3 separate regions of the Homo sapiens genome follow, and all the other regions are linked to region 1. Evidence: promoter capture Hi-C in human tissues and cell types (Jung and others, 2019). All regions are on one chromosome and are shown on one strand. The core of a region is centred on a gene start or on the middle of the fragment in contact, and the rest is flanking DNA. Distances in the headings are between cores, read along the strand shown.

The links. Contacts are between HindIII fragments. The study calls those that stand out against the background at their distance.
Region 2: a contact is called between the fragment with the promoter of PPFIA4 here and the fragment with the promoter of KDM5B in region 1, in 1 of the 25 tissues and cell types used here (IMR-90 fibroblasts).
Region 3: a fragment that was not itself captured here is called in contact with the fragment with the promoter of KDM5B in region 1 in 1 of the 25 tissues and cell types used here (liver).

What each region holds. Positions count from the first base shown.
Region 1 is chr1:202,807,171-202,810,342 of GRCh38, forward strand. KDM5B (lysine demethylase 5B) reads right to left here and starts at 1,251. Exons shown (of 27, transcript NM_006618.5): 1 at 932-1,251. The coding sequence starts at 1,135. It overlaps LOC124904583, which reads right to left. Exons shown (of 3, transcript XM_047439549.1): 3 at 3,068-3,172. RefSeq lists silencers at 136-205, 306-425, 826-1,025, 1,056-1,265. The HindIII fragment of the contact is 12,124 bases long and covers 1-3,172 here.
Region 2 is chr1:203,024,974-203,028,145 of GRCh38, forward strand. It overlaps PPFIA4 (PPFI scaffold protein A4), which reads left to right and starts at 1,518. Exons shown (of 30, transcript NM_001304331.2): 1 at 1,518-1,656. RefSeq lists a silencer at 1,308-1,617 and an enhancer at 1,444-1,965. The HindIII fragment of the contact is 14,289 bases long and covers 1-3,172 here.
Region 3 is chr1:202,969,554-202,972,725 of GRCh38, forward strand. No RefSeq gene overlaps it. Among named protein-coding and RNA genes, the nearest start is that of CYB5R1, 3.9 kb to the left of the region's middle. The HindIII fragment of the contact is 4,279 bases long and covers 1-3,172 here.

The DNA.
Region 1 (3,172 bases), core at 1-2,500:
GAAATCTTCGGAGGTCTCTCCGTCTGACGTTCCCCTACAAACACGGCCTCGCCCGGACCCCATCCCCACCAGCACAGCCCAGGCCTCCCCGGGGAGCCGAGCGGCTGAGCCAGAAGAAGCCGGGAGTGTGCGCGTTCGGGAGCGCGGGCGGGCATCGGGGCCCACCGCCGCCCGTCCTGCCCCCGCCGCCCCAAAAGTGTCCCCCAGACACTAACGCCCCCCACAAACATCCGCTCCGGGGCTGGACCCGCGGCTCCTCCCCGCCCCCAGCCAGCGCTGGCCGCCCCCTTCTTGACCCCGGCCCGGGGGACACCTGGAGGCCCGGGGACCAGGCGGTGGAGGGGTGCCCTGGTCTGGAGGGTGGGGCGCCCAGGTGAGGGCCGCTCCGGGCCGACGCCGCCACCACACAAAGGACCAGGGGCTCCCGCCGCCATATTGAAAACTTTCCTCCTCGCACGACAACTCGCAAGTCCCCCACCCCCACCCCACCCCATCACACACCCCCGCACCCCGGGAGCGGAGGCGAGGACCAGCCTGCCGAGCCTCGCCGGGCCCACAGTCCTCCCTCCAGCCCGCGCCTCCGCCAGGCTCCGTGAGGAAACTCCCCCGCGACCACCCCCGGCTCCTGCCATCACTCCATCCGGAACCGAACCCGAACCTCCGCACCCGGCCGCCCGAGCCCCGCGGCGACCCGGCCCTCCCATGGCACCGCCGAAGCCCCCGGTTCTCCCACGCTCCTCATCTCCCACCCTGGAGAAGCCCCCGTCTTCCTCCCCCGGCCTCAACTCCGACCTTCTAGGCAGCCCCAAACTTGACGAGGCCGGCGGGGCGACCGGCTCCCCGCCCCCCGCGCCTCGGGCCTCCCCGGACCCGCGCGTCCCCGCTCCCTCCCCCAGCCACGAGCTGGATCCGGGGTGCTGGCGTGACTCACCGGCGGCGGCCGCACCTTACAGATGCCAGTCTGCTCGGCTATGGGCCGGATCTTGTGGATGAAAGCGAAGGGGTCCGCGAACTCTTCCCAGCTGGGTTCGAAGACCGGGCACTCGGGTGGAGGCAGGAACTCGCCCAGCGGGCCCGGGCCCCCGAGGGGCAGCGCCGGGCGCGGGCCTGGGTGCAGTGTGGTGGCCGCCTCCATCACCGCAGGCTGGGCAAGGGCGAGGCGAAGGTGGGCTCCGGGACCGAGGCTGCGAGCTCCGCTCGGTCCGAGACCCGTGCAGACGCGGCTCGAGCAACAGCAAGTCCGAGTTGTACGGGCAACGGCAGCACCTTGGGCTTTTTCAGCCTCCGACGACGACGTCTCGCCGCAAGCCCACGCCGTGCGCCTCCGCCGCCACGGCGAGGAAAAAGAGTCCCACCCCACCCCCATCGACCCACCCTCCGCGCGCGGCTCCCCGCCCCGCCCCCGAATCGGGCGGGGCCGCGCCTTCCGCTGTGGATGGAGTTTATCCTTAGGGTTTCAGTTGAGCCAACTTTTATTGACCATTTACTATGTATCAGAGTTCCTGCCCTGAAGAAGTTAAGTCTGGTAGAAAGGATCAGTCCCATAAGCCAATCATTCAATCACGTCAGTACACAATGGTAGGTGCAGTAAAACCCAGGAGGGGGTTTTGGAAAGAGTATTGGAAACGGAGAAGGATTTTCCAGTAGAGATAACAGCTTGAACATACACATAGCATGTTCATGAGAAGGCAATAGTAGTAATAATAATAATAACGTAACATTTTGGGGCACTTTCATATCCTAGGCACTGTTCTAATTGCATCGCATGATTAATCACACAACCCTATGAGATAGGTACTCTTATTTCCACTTTACAATAAGGAAAGTGAGGCATAGGTAGGTTAAGCAATTTGCCATAATTCACATGGCTAATAAGTGATGGAGACTATTGGGAGGTGGAGATGTTGCAGGGAAAATAATCATCCACAAACAGTCTATGACGAGGTCAGACTTGAGAGGGGCGAAAGACTTGAAATAATCCAGACAAGGAATGATAGGATCTAAATTAAGGCAGTGGTGCTGATAATTATGAGGAAGGGATGCAAAGGTAGGAAATAAAATTAGGACATAGTGACAGATTGAGGGGGGACGACGAGGTATTAAGATTCAGATGTCTGGCGTACCTGCCTGAGTAGATGCTAGCCCGTTGGCATTGCTGGAACATTCACCCCAATTATATACAGAAGGCGAGTTACTCAAGGGAAGAAGATACTGTGTTCATTTCTGGACATTTTGAATTTGAGGTGTCTCTGGTACATACAGGTAGAAATACACAACGGGGTATCCTTCAACAGACTGAAGGGTATAAATCTGAAGGGGCGAGATCAGAATTGGAGATATAAATCTGGGAGTTATGTGCTTATGGGTGATAGCCGCTATTTAATGCTACTGTGTGTAAAGCACTGCTCTAAACGCTCTGCATGTATTAGCTCACTGAGTCTTCACAACCACCATATTGAGTAGGTACGATATTATCCTCATTTTGCAGAGCAGGCAACGGAGGCAAAGAGGTTAACGAACTTTAAGAGATACGAACACTTTTGAGGCGCCTTTTTTCTTTTGGCGGGAGACGGGGGACGGGGGTGGGGGGGTAGTGTCCAGCAGCCTCAGAAAAAAGGAGGAAGCTCAAAAAGTAGAACGTCAACATTGAAATGACCTCTTTCATCCAGAAAGCTGCCAAACGTATGCAAGGAATGTTTGTCAAGATCTTAGTTCGCTTTCAGATTCACCTAGTGGAAGGAAATCTCTTATGCTTAAGAAGTCTTCAATTAAAAGGGGGGATGGGCGTGGGGGGAGAAGAAAACCGCCTTCCCTTCAACAAATTTTTCCCAGAGGTACCGGGCCCAGGAAAGAGTTCACAGTGGTCCTGGGAGAACGTATTCCTTTTCTTAGCTCTCCAGGGCTTTGGGACCTGGAGTCTTTTCCTGCTCCCTACTGCAATGGAGAGTCAAGCCCAGGGGACAGCTAATACACTATTAAAAGAATTATCAGTGCAAGATAGATATGCGATGTGGCAAGTTATAATAGAATCTAGGTAGTGGGTATAGAGGAATTTGATGCAAATTTCTTTTAACTTTACTGAATATTTAATAATACTAAATAAAAGTTGGGTAGAAGAATTATCGTCGATGGCTCTTTGGTGCGCATTCTGGGCCTCCGAGGGTCTTGATGA
Region 2 (3,172 bases), core at 268-2,767, 220 kb after region 1:
CGTTATCTTGGCTTCAGCCTTCCTCTGCATTGGCTGAGTTGCCGTTTCTAGCATGATACATGCTTTATTAGTGACAGGATGTGAAGTGTCTCAGGGATTTCCTTTTGGTGAGGACCCCAGACCACCCGAAGAAGAATTAGAACTTTCTGGACTACAGGTTATATACTGTGATTTTGCTCTGTCAAGCAACATAAATTGATCCTTGAACGCTGTGAGAGTTATGGACACAGACCCTCACACAGTTGAAAATCTGCTATGACTTTTGACTGCCCGAAAACTTAATAGCCTACTGTTGACTGGAAGCCTTATTGATAACATAAACAGTTGATTAATGTGCATTTTGTATATGTAGTATATACCTTATTATAATAAGCTCGAGAAAAGAAAATGTTATTAAGAAAATCAAAGAAGAGAAAATACATTTACTGTTCATTAAGTGGGTCATCATGTTGAGCAGGCTGACGAGTAAGAAGAGGAGGGGTAGTCTTGCTGTCTCAGGGGTGGCGGGGAAGGAAGAAAATCTGCATGCAACTGGCCCTGTGCAGTTGAAGGCCCTGTTGTTCAAGGGTCACAGATTTAGCTTCACTTACCCACCCCTCAGATCAGAATTACTCAAGATTTCCCTGTCTTCAAAGAGACGCAAGGAAATTATGCCAAATGGTGAATATATTGGGTGGAAGATAAATGAGAGAAGGTTGTATGTGTCACTGATCTCAACTATAGCATTTGCTGCTGATATAGAACATGCTGTGTATATATCTATAAATACACACACATGAACACATTGCATGTATATAAAAATTGTTCACACTTTTAGTGGTGCTTACTGGGTATTGGTAAAGGATTGAGTAGGCACTGTGATGAAACTTCACAAAGCAGATGGAAAAGATGCATTAATAGCCACAGGGGGCAGGGTAAGGGAGCAATTCAGGAAAATGGAGAGGCTTAGCTAAAATTTGTCAGTCAGGAATTTTGGCATTTGAGACTTGTTTTCATACTATGTATATGTAATAGACAAACCCTTCATTTTGTAGTAACAGTGTTAGAACAGCCAGGTGCCTGAAGGCAAGCGACACAATTCACTGAAGAGCATACTACAGATGTAGTATCCGGATATCAAGTTTCCCCACTTAAAAAATGGGTGCGATCAAAGGAAAAGCAAGGAACGGGCAGGAGAGCAAGCGTGAAAGGTGACAAACTTGACAATTACAAGGCCGAGACTAAGGCCAATTTAGGGAACGGGCTGTTAGACTAGGAACAAGGGCGAGTTCAGAGGGAGGGGCAGAATGTGGGCAGCACTCCTGGGCCCTGAGACCCTTCTGCGGAATAAAACTCTGGCACTTCGCCACCTCCTAGGCTGAACCAAGATGGCGCGCGGCCTCAAAGCGGCGCTCTCGTCACGTGCCCGGACCCGAGGCGCTTGGGGGCGGGAGGCGTGGCCTCGGTCGCGGCAGCCCAGCCCCGCCTAGGGGGCGGAGCCGGGGGGGGTTGTCCGCGGAGGAAGGGGGCGGGGCCCCGCGGCCGCGCGCTTGGGCGGCGGAGGCTGCAGCTACCTCGGCGCCGGCTCGGCTCTAGGACGTGTCGGGCTGCACGGGTCGGGGGCGGCTCCCTGCTGCTTCCGAGCCTAGCCGCCTGGCCTTCGGCATTTGCAGGCAGGTGAGCGCCCAGAGCCTGGACTGGGGTAGGATGCGTCTTTTCCCCATCTCCAGCTCCCCTCGACAGTTTGGGGAGGGGTCTCGTCTATCGCACCTCGGGAAACAGCCCTTTTTGACTCCGTATGTGCTACCTCCGGCAGGCGTCGGTACTGCTTACCCTGCCGCCCCTCGCCCTCCTTTGCGGTGCCCTGTGCCCTTGGGGGTGAGGATAGGGGCGATGCCTGATCTGCGGGGAGGGCGTGGAGTGCGCCCTCTGCTCCATCGGCTTCAGGGGAGGGGGCCGAGTTGGCGAGTCTCCCGGTGGGAACGGAGCAGACTGCGCCCCCATTTCCCCTCCAGGAGAGTCAGAAAAAGCGCCTCTCGGCTCCGGGGCCAACCCCACTCCTTTGGGGACGCGATTCTGATGGGCTGAGGTCTTCGCTCTTCGCGGGGGTCTTAATCTTTCCCGAGTTGCTCATAGCACCCCTGTTCCTGTCGCTAGCTCTCCATTCCTCGAACTGCCAGCCTCAGTCTGTGCCAGAGATGCCCCCATCTCCGCAGTGCCAGGGCGGTGGGGTGGAAGGAGCGGCCAACCCGAGGCCTGGTGGGGGTGGGGACAGGGGTGGGCGCAACAGGAAAAGAGGGCTGGAATAGAGATGCCTGAACTGGGAGGGTGGGAGTGGGGCGCTGACTTACGTCCACGCAGTAGGGATGTTTTCCAGCGCAGATTTTGAGGTTTTGATGGTGGGTGGGAAGAGAGAGGTCGGGCTGGAGGACTTGGAGACATGGTGTAGGTGGTTTTCTTCGAGAAGGAGGAGGGATCCAGGACAAGGTGCCACTAGGAGCTGATGTCACCTTTGAGGAGAGGTGTGCTGGTAGTTTCCATCAGAGGAGCAGGAGAGTTGGGGCCGTTCTGTGTGGAGAGCAAGTGGTTAAGGAGGCGCTGCTTCGCAGGGAGATCCCCTCCTGGTGTGAGCTTAAGGGTCCCCTCCAGGAGCCAGGTTTCAGGGATTTCCCATAGTCCTTTCCAGAGTTCTTGGATCTGGTACCTAGTACTTTGCTCAACATCCAGCAAACATTTGTTGGACACCTACTATCTGCCAGATACTATGCTCGGTGCTAGGTCTTCTGAAGGCAATTTACAGCCACGGAGTAGCTGAAAGGTACACATAGGAGGCACACATAGCAGGTATTCTGTTAACACCCTTCTCACCGCCCATCCCCATTCTGTTACATTGCTGTTGGATTAGAAAAAGAAAGAACTGTGTCCACGTGCTTTCAAACAGCTGTCTGAATTAGACTCCAACCTACACACCCCCTACCACTATTAACTGGCCAGGTAGTCCCAGGGAAGCTGCCTAAGCAAAAGGGCAGCTTGAATGATTTCCCTTGGTTATTTTCTCAGATTTTGTCCTGAGGCTTGAGGAGGCTTCGTGGGGTAAACGGTATCTCAAAGTAAGGAGATAATGAATGACAAAATGGTTATTGGGGGCCAAGAATGTCCTAGACACTCTGTGTAGTGGGAGACGCCATCTCTG
Region 3 (3,172 bases), core at 452-2,951, 160 kb after region 1:
TAACCCAATCTTTTAAGTTTAGGATTTCCTCCTGGGTATACAATAAAGAATAGAACAGGCTGGGTTCACGCCTGTAATCCCATCACTTTGGGAGGCTGGATGGATCACTTGAGCCCAGGAGTTTGAGACCAGCCTGGGCAACATGGCAAAATCCTGTCTTTACAAAAATACAAAAATTAGCCAAGTGCGATGGCGCTGGCCTGTAGTCCTAGATACTAAGGAGGCTGAGGTGGGGGTATTGCTTGAGCCTGGGAGATCAACGCTGCAGTGAGCCATGATTGCGCCACTGCACTCCAGCCTGGGCAATAGAGCAAGACCCTGTTTAAAAAAATATATATATATAATGTAGTGTGAGGGGGAAGTAGAATTTCAAACCTGTGTTTTATAATTCTGAATTAGGATGTAAAACTCAGTGGCCCTTTTTAGATAAGATATCCAGAAAGAAGCTTGGAGGAAGACTTGCTCATACTGAGGAGATGGCATGGAGGAATCAGACCAGGAGATGTAATAATGACAAAAAAATTAACATTTATTGAGCATGTGCAATATAGCAAGAACTAGGTAAATTGCTTTTCACGTATTCTGACAACATCCATTTAATCCTGACAACAACTGTGAGATAGATATTATCATTAGTAGTCTCATTTTATGGAGTGGGGGGAAACTGAAGTTTAGGACAAGTAAGTCACTTGCCCAAGATCACCTACTAAATGGCAAACTCAGACTGCATACCAGGCAGCTTGATGTTGAAAACTAACAACCTCACACCCTTTTTGAACTTTTCTTTTTTTTTTGAGACGGAGTCTTGCTCTGTCACCCAGGCTGGAGTGCAGTGGCGCAATCTCGACTCACTGCAACCTCTGCCTCCCAGGTTCAAGTGATTCTTCTGCCTCAGCCTCCTGAGTAGCTGGGATTACAGGCATGCGCCACCATCCCCGGCTAATTTTTGTACTTTTAGTAGAGACGAGGTTTCACCATGTTGGCCAGGCTGGTCTCAAACTCCTAACTTCGTGATCCGCCTGCCTCAGCCTCCCAAAGTGCTGGGATTACAGGCGTAAGCCACCGTGCCTGGCTGAACTTTTTAGTATGGAAACTATCAAACATATACAAAAGTAGACAGAACAGTATAATAAAGCCCGACGTACCCATCACCCTCTTCAACAATTATTAAATCATGGTCACCTTTCTTTCATTTCTTCCCCAGTCCGTTCCTTCCTCCAGTATTATTTTTAAGCAAATCCCATATTTTTTATAACTTTGTCCTTAAATATTTTAGTGTGTATCTTTAAAAGCTAAGGACTTAAAAATAACCATAATACCATTATCACATGTAAAAATAATTAACAACAATTACTTAGTTTCATCAGATAGCTAGTCAGTGTTCAAAGTTCCACCTGTCTCTTTTTTTTTTTTTTTTTTTTGAGATGGAGTCTCACTCTGTCGCCTAGGCTGGAGTGCAGTGGCATGATCTTGGCTCACTACCAGCTCCACCTCCCAGGTTCACGCCATTCTCCTGCCTCAGCCTCCCGAGTAGCTGGGACTACAGGCGCCCGCCACCACGCCTGGCTAATTTTTTGTATTTTTAGTAGAGACGGGGTTTCACTGTGTTAGCCAGGATAGTCTCAATCTCCTGACCTTGTGATCCATCCTCCTCGGCCTCCCAAAGTGCTGGGATTACAGGGATGAGCCGCCGTGCCCGGCCTTTTTTTTTTTTTTTTTTTTTTGAGATGGAGTCTCACTCTGTCACCCAGGCTGGAGTGCAGTGGCACGATCTCGGCTCACTGCAACCTCTGCCTCCCGGGTTCAAGAGATTCTCCTGCCTCAGCCTCCTGAGTAGCTGGGATTATAGGCGACTTCCACAGCGCCCGCCATGGCGCCTGGCTAATTTTTGTATTTTTAGTAGAGAAGGGGTTTCACCATCTTGGCCAGACTGTTCTTGAACTCCTGACATTGTGATCCACCCGGCTCGGCCTCCCAAAGTGCTGGAATTACAGGCATGAGCCACTGCGCCTGGCCCCAGCTGTCTCATTTTAAATTTGTAATTGTCATACATTAAAATAGACTCTTGGGCATACAGTTCTGTGAATTCTAGAATATGTATAGATTTGTGGCACCACTATAATCAGGAAATAGACCAGTTTGATCACCCTGCAAATCTCCCATATGCTATCCCTTTATGGCCACATCCTCCCCTTACCTTTAACTCCTGGTTATCACTGATGTGTTCCCTGTCAATACACTTTTGCCTCTTTATGAATGTCACATAAATAAAGTCTATACAATATGTAAGCTTTTGAGTGGATTTCTTTCACTCAGCATAGTTTGAGATTCATCCAAGTTATCATGTGTATTTACAGTCCATTCTTTTCATTGCTAGTAGTATTCTGTTGTATGGCTGTATCATAATTTGTTTATCCATTCATCAGCTGAAGGACATTTGAGTTATTTCCAATTTTTGGTGATGATTGAAATTGCTTTAAACATTCATGTGCAGATTTCCATGTGAACCTAGTTTTTATTTCTCTGAAATATCCACAAGTGTGATTTCCGGATCACATGGAAGGTGTATATTTAACTTTATATAAAAAGCTGCCAAACTGTTTTTCAAGGTGATTATACCATTTTGCCTTCCCACTAGCAATGGATGAGAATTCCAATTGCTGCGGCATTTTCATTAGCAATTGGTATTGTCAGCACTTTTGATTTTGGCCATTCTAATAGGCATGAAGAGGTATCTCATTGTGATTTTACTTTTTTTTTTTTGTTTTTTTGAGATAGAGTCTCCTCTGTCACCAAGCTGGAGTGCAGTGGTATGATCACGGCTCACTGCAGCCTCAACCTCCCAGGCTCCAGCGATTCTTCTACCTGAACCTCCCTGAGTAGCTGAGACCACAAGCAAGTGCCACCACTCCTGGCTAATTTTTTTAAAAGTTTTGTAAATACGAGCTTTCACTTTATTGCCCAGGCTGATCTTGAACTCCTGGGCTCAAGTGATCCTCCCGCCTTGGCCTCCTAGAGTGTTGGGATTACAGACATGAGCCACCATGCTATCCTCATTATGATTTTAATTTGCATTTATGTAATGGTTGATGATAATAAACATGTTCTTATTTGCCATCTATATATCATCTTTGGTGAAGTGTCTGTTCAAGTATTTTGCCCAGTTTTAATT